Linked DNA regions of Homo sapiens: region 1 is linked to region 2. The links are contacts of gene promoters, found by promoter capture Hi-C in blood cells and fetal thymus (Javierre and others, 2016). All regions are on one chromosome and are shown on one strand. Each heading gives the region's core, a stretch centred on a gene start or on the middle of the fragment in contact. The rest is flanking DNA. Distances are from core to core; before and after follow the strand shown.

Region 1 (4,907 bases), core at 2,095-4,594, 1.4 Mb after region 2:
CGGTCAAGCAACATTGCTTTCAAACAAGAAAAAAATATTTAAGAGATAACTTCAGCTCATTGAAAATTCAATCAAAAAGTAAAAACTTTTACCCCTCCTAAGAAACAATGCTGGGATTTGGGACTAAAGCAGAGGCAGCAGTAATAAGGGATAAAGCAATGGACTTAGTAAAAGTAGGAAAATCAAGCCAAGGTGGGAAGACTTAACTTTTTAGGTTTCAGTATATTCACTATACTAGGTTTCGGTATATTTCAGTATACATATTTGCAGTCTAAAACATGATGCTCTACTGTTTTACGTAAAGCCATAACAGTTCTCAAAAACTGATTATAATTAGAACTCTGCAAATCCAAGGCTGGGTGCGGTGGTTCACACCTGCAATCCTAGCACTTTAGGAGGCCGAGGAAGGTGGTCACTGGAGCCCAGGAGTTTGAGACCAGCCTGGGCAAAATAATGAAACCCTTTCTCATTATTAAAAAAAAAAAATAGCCAGGCATGGTGGTGCATGCCTATAGTCCCAGCTACTCGGAAGGCTGAGGTAGGGGGATCACTTGAGCCCGTGAGGTTCAGGCTGCAGTTAGCAGTGACTGCTCCACTATACTCCAGCCTGAGCCACAGAGCAAGACCCTGTCTCAGAAAAAATAAAAGAATTCTGCAATCCCAAAATTGACATTTTTCTCTTCTACATTAAAAAAGTCTTCTTTACACATACTATCACAATCTATCACCAAAATTTGCTCCAAAAATTGCTATCCATCTTTAAAAGCTTATTTTGACTCCAATATTAGACATAACAGATGTTCCTTAAATTTACTGACCAAACACATATACAAGCAAATACCTTTTTAAAAAACATGTATTAAGAAGTCACCTATTATAATTGAAAAGGCATGGAAAGGCTTTCTAAGGTGAAGGAACTGGTAGGGAAGGAAAGCTTTTAACTGGGGAATAGGACAATTTGGGATTCAATTTATAAAAATGGCCTGGAGCTCTCTGGAGTGCCCATTTCTTTGACTTGACTCAGCCTTGTTTTCCATTATCACCACCATTCCTGACATCCATCCCTCAATTGAAAGTTCTTTCCATTTTAAAAGTATAAAGAAAAACAAAATATATTTTAGCAGTCTTGATGTCAGCAGATTCTAGACTAACTTTTAAATCTCTAAACAGTATTCTACCATACTAAATTTTAAGAATTATGTCAATAACCTATATATAAACAAAAATTACCAAAACTTCCCAAGATACCCAAAATAATTAATATCTTAGGCTACATAGCTTTCTTTCATATGCTGTTAATTGGATGAAAAATCCACATTTTGGTAAACATGTGAAAGACGGTTTATTTCCAAATCAAAGAGAAAGTCTGTAGAACTGGCAAATAGCTATAAATATTTAGGAATATGAACCTTTTTTGAGGACTGTTTACTATTAACCAGACTATGGTTCTTTGTGGGTTTGTCTTCCATTAAAAAGAAATGGTTTTGAGATTCCCTGTGGTGACATACTACAGAAAAGGGGAAGTGCAATATCCAGCTAAGTTTTGCTAAATTGCATAATTGCCTTGCATTTACTATTTTTTAAACAAATTAGAACCAAAATGCTCATTGCTATTTTTTCCCTCATGCTCTTAAATTATTAATCCATTTAGTGTGAAGAATGCCTTCTTTTAAATGATCACCTGATTCTCTGAAATAATGAACTTATGACTGCTTATCACAGCATAAAATTCACAAACGTTTAACTTTTTAAGTATATATAGCTAATCCTCATTCCCAAGACCCTACTAACTATATTAAAAATAAACAGCATAATTTGTTTCTAGGACTGTCCACTGGGACGACAGCTGTAACAGAATCCAGTGAATCTTAAAATCCAGTGTATTTTAAATAGGGGGTAAATTACCAAGCCTGGCAAACACTGGAATTTCATCTGTTCAATACTATAAAATATCAATAAACATTAATATTAATGTCAATCCTCCTATAGAACAAATATAATTTAAAGCAAAAACAGCATAAGCCACGTGAACCTTCAATATCTTTAGACATGAAACATCCTTCCCAGAGACAGAAGAAAAAGTCTTTGACCAAAATCAGACATTCTTCCAACAATAATCAAAAATCAAAATGGAGCTTTTTCAGAGTGAATGTTCAAATTATGTAAATATTCTCAAATACCTCAAGTTAAAATTAAAAGTCTCATTTTAAAAATTGTGTTTAGCTACAGTTAAAGAAATTCTGGTCAAAAAGCAAATTAAAAGAAGAAAAATTTTTATCAAAAAGCAAATTAAAAGATAATAGTAAAGAAGTGCCTCTTTGAAACACAACAAATACATAAAGAAGGAAGAAAAATCAGCATTGTATGTATTACTACATTTTAAAATAACTTATATTCTAAAGGCTTACCAAAGAAAATAAATTATCAAATTTTTTCACTTCATTTATAATTGTACATGATTTATTATTAAAAGTCAATAATGCATTAGCATTCCAGTTATACACCACATAAGAAACACTGAGTATGGCAACTTTCCCCACGGATTTCAATAATTGACATTTTTCTTGTATATAATACTTACATTATTTGAGACACAATAATGGACAGTGAAACTTTTATACATTACTTATTAAGTTCATATAGTGCCATCTGGTGGTTAACATGATACATTATTAAGTTTTCCCTAAATGTAAGGAAACTACCACTTTGAAAATAATTACTTAATGAAAGGCCAATTTTCTCTTTTTTAGCATTCATCTTGTTCTAATCATCTGGTCTTAAAAACTTACTTTCCTACTCAACTTCTAAATGTGTCTTAAAATCTTCCAAATTGGCCAGGCGCGGTGGCTCACGCCTGTAATCCCAGCACTTTGGGAGGCCGAGGCGGGTGGATCACGAGGTCAGGAGATCGAGACCATCCTGGCTAACACGGTGAAACCCCGTCTCTACTAAAAAATACAAAAAATTAGCCGGGCGAGGTGGCGGGCGCCTGTAGTCCCAGCTACTCGGGAGGCTGAGGCAGGAGAATGGCGTGAACCCCAGGGGGCGGAGCCTGCAGTGAGCCGAGATTGCGTCACTGCACTCCAGCCTGGGCGACAGCTAGACTCCGTCTCAAAAAAAAAAAAAAAAAAAAAAAAATCTTCCAAATTGCCATTACTGCCCCCTGCTTCTTAGCATATGCCCTTCACAGATAAACCTTCTTTGCCTATTATAGTTCCATTCTTTATCTTTCAAGCTTTTTCCCAGATTGCCATGTAGCCCTCAGATACATCCCTCCTTAGTTGAAAACTTTCTAGTCATCTCCTCTCAAAATAAAAATAATATCTAAAATTTAGTGATGTACCAAGCATTACACTAAGTGCCTTAAGTGAACAATCTAACTTAATCTTCACATCAACCCTGTAAAATAGGCACTATTATTATCCTCATTTTACAGCTAAGGAAACAAGCTTATAAAGGTACACGGACTTCTCAAAGAAATTTGACTCAAGAACCCACCTTATAGCCATTTAATATTGCTCCTTTCCAAGTTTTGATAAAGAACTATAACTCAGTGAAAATTTATTTGCATGGCAGAAGTCAGCTGTTGAAAACAAACAAAGGTGCCCAAAACACAGAAAGGCTTTTTTTTTTTAATACATAAAAGATTAACCTTGTGAATAAATATTAATCTGTAGACAATGCAACAGCTGTTAAAATCAAACGCCAAATGTTTTAAGTGCTAAAAGACTCATAATTAATGTCAATATGTTAAAGTGAAAAAGTTGGGAAAGAAATTTTAAAGCAGGAATAAACTGTTAAGCTGCTGATCAATGGTAAACATTAACTTATCTTATGTATATGCACAACATTCAGGGCTATTATGATCCAGCTGTTGCTCCTAATTCAATAGCCAGTGCAAGCTTTTACAATTAATTTCCCAAAGGTGCATTATCTCTCAATGTATATCTTTGCATTACTGTTCCCTCAACCTGCAAACTGTTCTTCCTTTACTTCTAGGAAAATGCCTATTCAGCCTTCAGAACTCACTTTATACCTAATTCCTTAGGAAACTTTCACTGATGCTCATCTCTTTCCCCTACACCAGAATACTTGAGCCACACAGCATCTGGCACATGACTTCTAGACTATCAATTAGTGTATTCAATTAAAATGCGTTTGTTTATCTCTGGTTCCATAAAATAAAGCAGTTTGAGGGCAGTGCTTTACTGACGTTGTGTTTCTAGAATTTAAAATGGTGCTTAACACATAGTACTCAGTAAGTAACACTGGGGTGTTATTATTTTACACAGCTGTTCAGCATTTGTGTTCTGTGACCTGATGATAGGATAAGTAGTGTTCCAATCAGAAAGTAATGGGGAGGTCCTCTAAAAATAGTATAAACAGATTCTGAAAGGGATGATTCAAAGCAGGATGCACTACCTTGGTAAGAGTCCCCTCGTTTCCTGTTTTCAGAATTATTAATATCATCAACCCCTACATCTACCTAAAGCTTATGCTAATACTACTCCAGGCATTAAAGAAAGTATTTACCTTTTATTTTATAAAAATTAAAAGAATAAAATTAAAATATAAAATAATAAAAAACATATCAACAAATACAAAATGCATTAAATTCTTATCCAAAACATTACCACATAGCTCTTGTTTGGCATCAATTACAGGATCAAAGACCTGGGCCCTCTCCTCCTAAATCCTATTAACAGATTACCTTGATATTAAATATTCTTTTTTCATCTCTGCATAACCATATTTCTCAGTACTGATATGACTTCAGTCTCTGTAGGGAAGTATTCATACAGGAGTTTTAGTTACTTACAATTCTAAGGGAGTTAATGAGACGACAGGGGAAAAGTCACTGAACCTCTATATAAGTAAGAGGTAGTCTAGATACAGAGACACTTTGG
Region 2 (6,988 bases), core at 2,490-4,989:
TTTCAGGGCAGCTGCCTCCATTGCAGCAAACTCCTTTGATGCCTTTTCTTCTTCCTTTGCCTTATCCAGGCTTTTCTGTTTAATCTATGTAAGACATACATAACAGTGAAAGTGAGATAAAGGACTGACATTTGCATAGAAAAATTAGCAAATAAACAATCTAAATTACCTCACTGATCCTTTTTGCCACATTTTCCTTATGATTCTTTCCTCTTTCATGAAATTCAACACTCTTGAAAATGAAAAGAGAAAATAACAAAAGAAAACTACATAAACATCATAAAATTCATAGTAAACATAATTTTCTCATAAACATGAGAAAATTAAAATTAAAATGAATGGCAGAAAAGATGAAAACATTAATTTAATGCAAATTGGCCCTTTTAATCAAATGATGCTAGGGAACTACATTGTTTATTATTATGTCCTCTGACTAGGTTTCCTTTGGTTCTTAAAATAAACCATGATGACCTTATTAATGGAGAAAAATACAAGGTACCCTTGATGACTAATCTAGTGACTATGATTGTAATGAGGACTCAAACGTGACATGAAGCCAAAAGACTGGGGAAAAAAATCTTAAACAACTTTCAACATCAAAAGCCTTTAGAATTTTATTGCTCTATTTGTCACAAGGAGGGACATAGAGAACAATGATTTTATTGCTTTATTCCTTAAATTTAGGAGAAAAGTATGTATTTTAAGATTCCTCGTAAATTATAAGCAAACACTTTTATACAATGTGGTAATGGTTCAAAATGTACAACTTCTATGGAGGATAATTTGGCAATATCTATCAAGACTACAAATACATTTACCCTTTGACACAGCAATTTCATTTCTGGTAATTTATTCTATAGATATACCTGCACATGTACAAAATCATGATATACACAAGCTTACTGACTGCAGCACTGTTTGCAATAACAATACGGTATCCATCTCTAAGGGACTGACTGGTTAAACTATGGTACATTCTCATAGTCTACTGTAACAGAGAGAAAGAAGCTCTTTATGTATGGATACAAAGGGAGCTCCAGTTACATACTGTTAAATTTTTTAAAACTAGTGCAGAATAATATATACAGTACATTACCTTTTATGTATGCTGGAATAAGAACTTGTGTCTACATGCATGTAGAAACAATGGAAGGATAGGCAAGAAAATGAAAAAAAAAAATGATAACCTATGGGGAGTGATGGCCACTAGATGACTGGGGACAGGGGCTGGTGAGTGAGCGCAATTATCTATTTAAACAATCAGAAATGCTCCCTAAATTACAAGTTTCTAGTTAAATGCAGTAAGAAATTCCTCACAAGCTCTGCAAAATAAGTTCTGTCAATCAAATCTTACATGATGCATTAACTGAGCTATTTTAAAATACTACCATGAATTCATCTTTAAAGTGTGACTTTGTAAAGCAGATAATCCTCCTGTTTTTCATACATTGCGTTTCCTAAAGTTGATTACACTACACAAAGAATACAATATTAAAGGACCATTCAAAATTAAATTAATTTTGTTTCTAATTAAAGGTTAAATCAATGTGTATTACCAACTCAAGAAGATAAAGACAGACTACACTGGAAGGGATTACTTACTCTAGATAACTCACAAAATTCATTTTACAGCCTAGGTACCTCCAAGAAAGAGAGACTTTAAGTGACCTGTGTGGTTTTAAAAATTCATGGTATTTATTTATAAGGATAGCCTAGGTAAAATAGTGAAGAACTTTAGCAACTATCCAAAAAGACCAAAACATCAAAAAAAAATCCAAATCCTAAACACCTTGCAGGTAACAGGAAATAAATGTCTACAGAAGAAATCCACAGCATTGTTAAAATATGAGACTACTATTCTTTGTGCATCCAACTTTGCCAAGTAAAAACGGTATCAACATAAAATATATTTAACAGATACCCTAGTGTTTATGTGGTATGTACATAGTATTTTGACATGCAAGAGGGGAGAAAAATCAGCGGTGTGCTTTTTGCTTTACATCTTCAAAACTGGATCTCAACTATGAGACAGACTAACAACATACCTAACAGAGTTGTTACTTTGTTTCATGAGAAAGGAAATAATGGTGTTCTTTCAAATTTAAGCATCTAAAGATACACAGCTCTGCATTAAATACACTTGATTATTTCTAGACCACAAAATATACAAGAAAAACTAAACATGTTGCTTTTATTTTTTAAGGGCTTTCCACAATTCTTTGGGTATGACAGTATTATGAACACCACCATTATAATATAGGTGCTTCATAACATGAATGATATGACCAACTCATTGCCCATTTCCCAAAAGGCCACAGAGAAATAATTTAATATATAATCAAAGTCAGGTTGATGAAAAGGAAGAAGGCTCACAGCTTTCATAGGGGACTGAGAAGACAGAAATCTTCTGATGTTTTGAAAATGCAAGAGCAATGTACATAAAAGTGCTTTGTAAACTGAGTTTACATCAAAAAGGAGCACTTCATTCAACACAATTATTATTAGAATCTCTAACAGCGGAATTATCATACAGGCCTATTGTCTGCTATCCAGCACTTGCAGTAATCACAGAATTTCTTTGGCTGTGACTTCCAGTAGTCCGCCCTGAAAAAGAGAGACAACAAGGCTAAGCTCATGTAAAACTTAAAAAAGGTTAAATTCTGCATGCTTTACAGTTTTTAAAGTTTGAAATATATGCCCCTGCTACTGAATCTTGTCTTGTTATGTATAGTCGTTTTATTATTTATCTGGTTGGAGCACAGTCAATTGAAATTCTGTTGCCAGCGGAGTAGAAAAAGTCTGTATCTGATTCATTACAAAACTCCCTTCAATAAAATGGCTTTCAAAAATTCCTCACTTGTTATCGTCATCGTTATGAAAAACTAAGGAACATCTTAGAAGAACATTTATCCTTTCTGGCTTTGGGGGAGGTTGCTGTAATGGAAACCTGAAGAAACTCATAAAGTTTGCCTTAAATCAAGTTATTCCCACCAAGAGAACAACGTACAAGACTACTCTGGGGAAAACTGTAGTTCCTCCCAGACTCTCAGTTAAAACAAACTGTTCTTGAGCCTCAAGGCAAGAGAGAACTGGAAAAGCCATGGGACTTCGTAGACGGCCGACAAAAAAAAAAAAAAAAAAAAAAAAAAAACCATTACGCTATCCAGGGCTGGCCGCTTCCAGTGGGCGGGGGAGGCCGCAGCCCAGCCCTAGTTTCACAATACCCTAGGGTTCAGGGGCTTCGGAAACCCAAGGGGTGCATGCGACCCCCGACAGCGTCGTAGAGAGAGCACTGCGTCGCTTCACCCGCGGCCGTCCAACCAGCCCCCTGAACCGGCCGCCGGCCTCCCCCTAGAGCCCGTGCCCCATACCCCAGGGCGTTCAGCGGGGTAACATTTCTACCCCGCCCTGAGAACCGGCCCTGCAGGTCTGGGGCCGGTCCCGAGCGAGTTAAGAACGCGTCTGTCACGCCCCCGGCCGAAGGGCGGGAGGAGAGGAGGGGAAGACCCGGGCGAGAAAGGGCGGCCCAGAGAAACAACACCTCGTTGTTCAGGGCCTGAGACCCAACTCACATGACTGCGCCAGCCGCTCTGCAAGTCGTCCAGGGTTCCACTCAGACTCGCGCTTTCCCAGCGGGACGAGTCGAGCTCTTCCAGCCGCCCGATGCCCACCCGAACCTCCCTCCGATCCAGACACCTTACTCAGTCCCCGGGACCAGCGTTCCGCTGTTCCCAACTACGGGTGCCCAGACGATCCAATCCGCGTTCGAAATCGCCTCCTCTCCCCTCCCCCTACAGGGGCGGTACTCCCGGCTCCAAAGAGGTGGGGTCGGTATAAAGGGGTTGAGGTCACCGGGAAGGGGTAAAAGCGCGACGGGACCTGAGCTGAAGGACGGGATCTCAAGCCTCAAGTCCCTGCGCCATCCCGCCGTCTCTGTGTCCTCCCCTGGGGCCCAAAACCTCCATCCTCCTTCTAGGCTCGCTGGCTCAAGGCCAAGGAGCTCAGCGCGCCGCCTCCGCCCGGAACGCAAACAGCTGTTCCCAGAGACGTCTCCGCTCTCAACTTTGCCAACTACTCCGCACGCACTTTGACCAGCGGAGCAACCGGGACCTGTGGGTCGGGGTCCTCTGGCGGAGTTAAAAAAAAAAGAGGTGAAACTGCGGGACCGGCGCTGCGAGTCGCTAGGCTTCGCCTCAAACTTTGCTGTTGCAGCGGAGCGGCCCCGCCCCTCCTCTCCCCTACGACGCCCACGCGCTCGGATGGGGCTTGTTCCCTAGCTCGGGAGCGTGTGGGCAGCAGCAGCGGCGGCGGCGGCGGCGGCGGCGGCGGCGGCAGCAGCAGCTTCAGTAGCGCAGAGGCGGCGGTGGCGAGAGGTGCGGCGAAGGAGGCAGAGGCACTTATGCTTGTCAGGTGGGTCACGGCAGTTTCTCATAGCACTTCCCATATGGTCTAGCGGTTAGGATTCCTGGTTTTCACCCAGGTGGCCCGGGTTCGACTCCCGGTATGGGAACGCTTCCTTATTTTTCTTTTTTTTTGCAACTATCGGTTTGGAGGGCTGACTTTTTAAATCTTGTGTTCTGGCTCCTTTCTTGTCCCCGTCTGGGTGAGTTTGTAGAAAATAAGCATTACTGTAGTTAGTGGCGCCAGGAGCTGGGCTGCGGCTTTTGGAGCCTCGAGTGCCACGCCGTGCCTGCTGGAGAAGCGAATGCGCTTCCGATCCTTCTCCCTCCCGCCTCCGGCTCACGGGGCTGGTGGGCCCTGAGGGAGTTTCACTTTCCCCTGGGCTGCTCCCCCGCCCCTCCGGCCCGTAGTTTTCCAGACGCCCGGGAGGTGATGATTAACTCCGGCCTTGCGTTATCTCCTCCCAGCGCCCCCGTCCGGCCCACACCCTCTTCAGCCGCTCTTGCGACTCTTCCTATGCAGGACGGGCTGACCCCCCTGCCCTGGGCGCCCCAGAGCCCGCGCCCGGACCAGTAGCTCTAGTGGTTCTCTGGCCGCAGGGTATTTACGAGGCCCCACGGAACACAGTGTGCCTTCCGCGCCCTCCCGGGGGGACGCGCTTTCCCGGCCGCGCAGCCGCCCGGCGCCCCTTTCCGCCGCGTGTGCGCTCGCGTCTCCACCCGCGGCGCCTGAGCAAGCGCGAGGCCGGCCTGCGAGGTCTTCCCAACTTGACTTAAGGGGCGCTGGTCGCAGTCACGGAAAGTACCCTCGAAAAAAGGCCTTTGGGAACGAGAATCTTTTTTCTTTCCCTTTAAAAATACACACCACGAGCTATGGAGGAGAAAAATACCACTCTGATGAGATGGCTTTAAATAAGTATATCGACTTTCCAAAGGGTCTAACATTTTGAGCGCGGTTGATTTAAAGAAAAAAATTGATTAAAACAACGGCAAAACATCCTGGGGTGGAGGTGGGGCTTGGGAAAGAGAAAATTGGCTGGAGACTGGGGAGGGGACGTTAAAACAAAGTTTCACTGTATTTTTAAATATAGAAGCCCTGTGTTTATTACAAAGAAGGGACAGCTGTGTCAGCAGCATGTGAGCTGTAAATGAAACAAAAGCGTTATCTTAAATGCAAGCTGAAATTAGAAAATAGGGTCGGCTATAATGTTTATTGGGCCTCTGGGAACAAACGAAGAAGGAAAAAGTGACTCTTGTAGATGGGTTTCTGGTCAGTGCCATTACTGAAAGCAGATGTTTTGGTTGTTAGTATGTGTGTTCCCAGACTATTTTGTAGCTTTAACTGCACAGTAAATTTGTTAATGTGATCTGCGTGATTAAGGATTAATTAGGCTTACCTTGTTAAAAAGAAAGAAAAAGCCTAAGTATTTTAAATCGTCTTCATTAATTCAAATATTTGTGTGTTTGCTACACACCAAGCACCACCACATGCTTTTGAAGTTACTGATGTTTGTATTCTTTATGTTAGCTAGTGGATAGAATACTGAATGGAATAATATTTTGGTCTTTGTGATTAGCTGTGTGATGAGACTTTTCACCTTCTCTGTTCTCTGGCTTTAGAGCCATACATTTTTGATAACACGTATCACTCACAAATTTTAAATAGAGTTACAAGAATTGTTGAGCGATTCCTGAATAGATAATGAAAGTGGAATTTTCATTTAAATAAGTAATAGTGTGTCATTATTAAGAAGCAGTTACTAAAGAATTACAGTAGTTGAAAATTTGGAAAGAAGGAAAGATAACTCGGATAACTCTGCCTTAATTGTCCCCAGAGAGGGCTTAACTTTTGACTTTTTCTTCTTTTTTTTGTTGAGACGGAGTCTCGCTCTGTTAACCCAGGCTGGAGGGCATTGGCGCGATCTCAGCTCACTGCAACCTCCGCCTCCCGGATTCAAGCTATTCTCGTGCCTCAGCCTCCCAAGTAGCTGGGACTACAGACACCCGCCACCACGCGTGGCCAATTTTTGTATTTTGAGTAAAGACAATGTTTCACCATGTTGGCCAGGCTGGTCTCGAACCCCTGACCTCAGGTGATCCACCCACCTCGGCCTCCCAAAGTGCTAGGATTACAGGCATGAGCCACCACGCCAGGCCTTGACCTTGTATTTTGTAATGAGTTTACAACATTGTACCAAATGGTGCTAAAATGGATGTTATTTTCAACTGTGCACTCAGTAATTGCAAATAGTTGTACTATATACCTGGGGGTGAACACAAAGGAAGTAGTTGCATCATCTCTGTATAAAACACAGATTTATCTTTCGTGTAGTTGTGCATTACGTAGAATATGGTAAGGCAACATCTGAGTTGTAGAAGTGCTACTGGAGTAACAGAGGTGAGGAATCGGTTCTGCTCAAGGGAGAGGACTGGAGAAGAGACCTAGAGGGGAGAGTGGACCTTGAAGAACTGATTGGATTTCTCCTGTTGGGGAATGTGAATCATAAAGCTGAGGTAGGGGGAACAAGTATGAGGCTGGCAAGTAGTCGGTTTGGCAGGAGCACAGAGTGCCTGCAGGGAGGGCCATG

What was found. The method cuts DNA at HindIII sites, captures the fragments that hold promoters and counts their contacts. A CHiCAGO score of 5 or more calls a contact.
Region 1: a fragment that was not itself captured here is called in contact with the fragment with the promoter of WBP4 in region 2 in 1 of 17 cell types (total B cells); the score reaches 5.2 in total B cells.

Annotation. Positions count from the first base shown.
Region 1 is chr13:39,682,475-39,687,381 of GRCh38, reverse strand. The region is part of intron 8 of COG6 (component of oligomeric golgi complex 6); the gene reads right to left. Among named protein-coding and RNA genes, the nearest start is that of MIR4305, 21 kb to the right of the region's middle. The HindIII fragment of the contact is 214 bases long and covers 3,238-3,451 here.
Region 2 is chr13:41,058,260-41,065,247 of GRCh38, reverse strand. WBP4 (WW domain binding protein 4) reads right to left here and starts at 3,739. Exons shown (of 10, transcript NM_007187.5): 1 at 3,573-3,739; 2 at 2,532-2,604; 3 at 170-232; 4 at 1-84. The coding sequence starts at 3,574. TRE-TTC1-2 (tRNA-Glu (anticodon TTC) 1-2) reads left to right here and starts at 4,439; the gene lies at 4,439-4,510. It also overlaps a transcript of ELF1 not described here. RefSeq lists a silencer at 4,945-5,124. The HindIII fragment of the contact is 8,920 bases long and covers 901-6,988 here.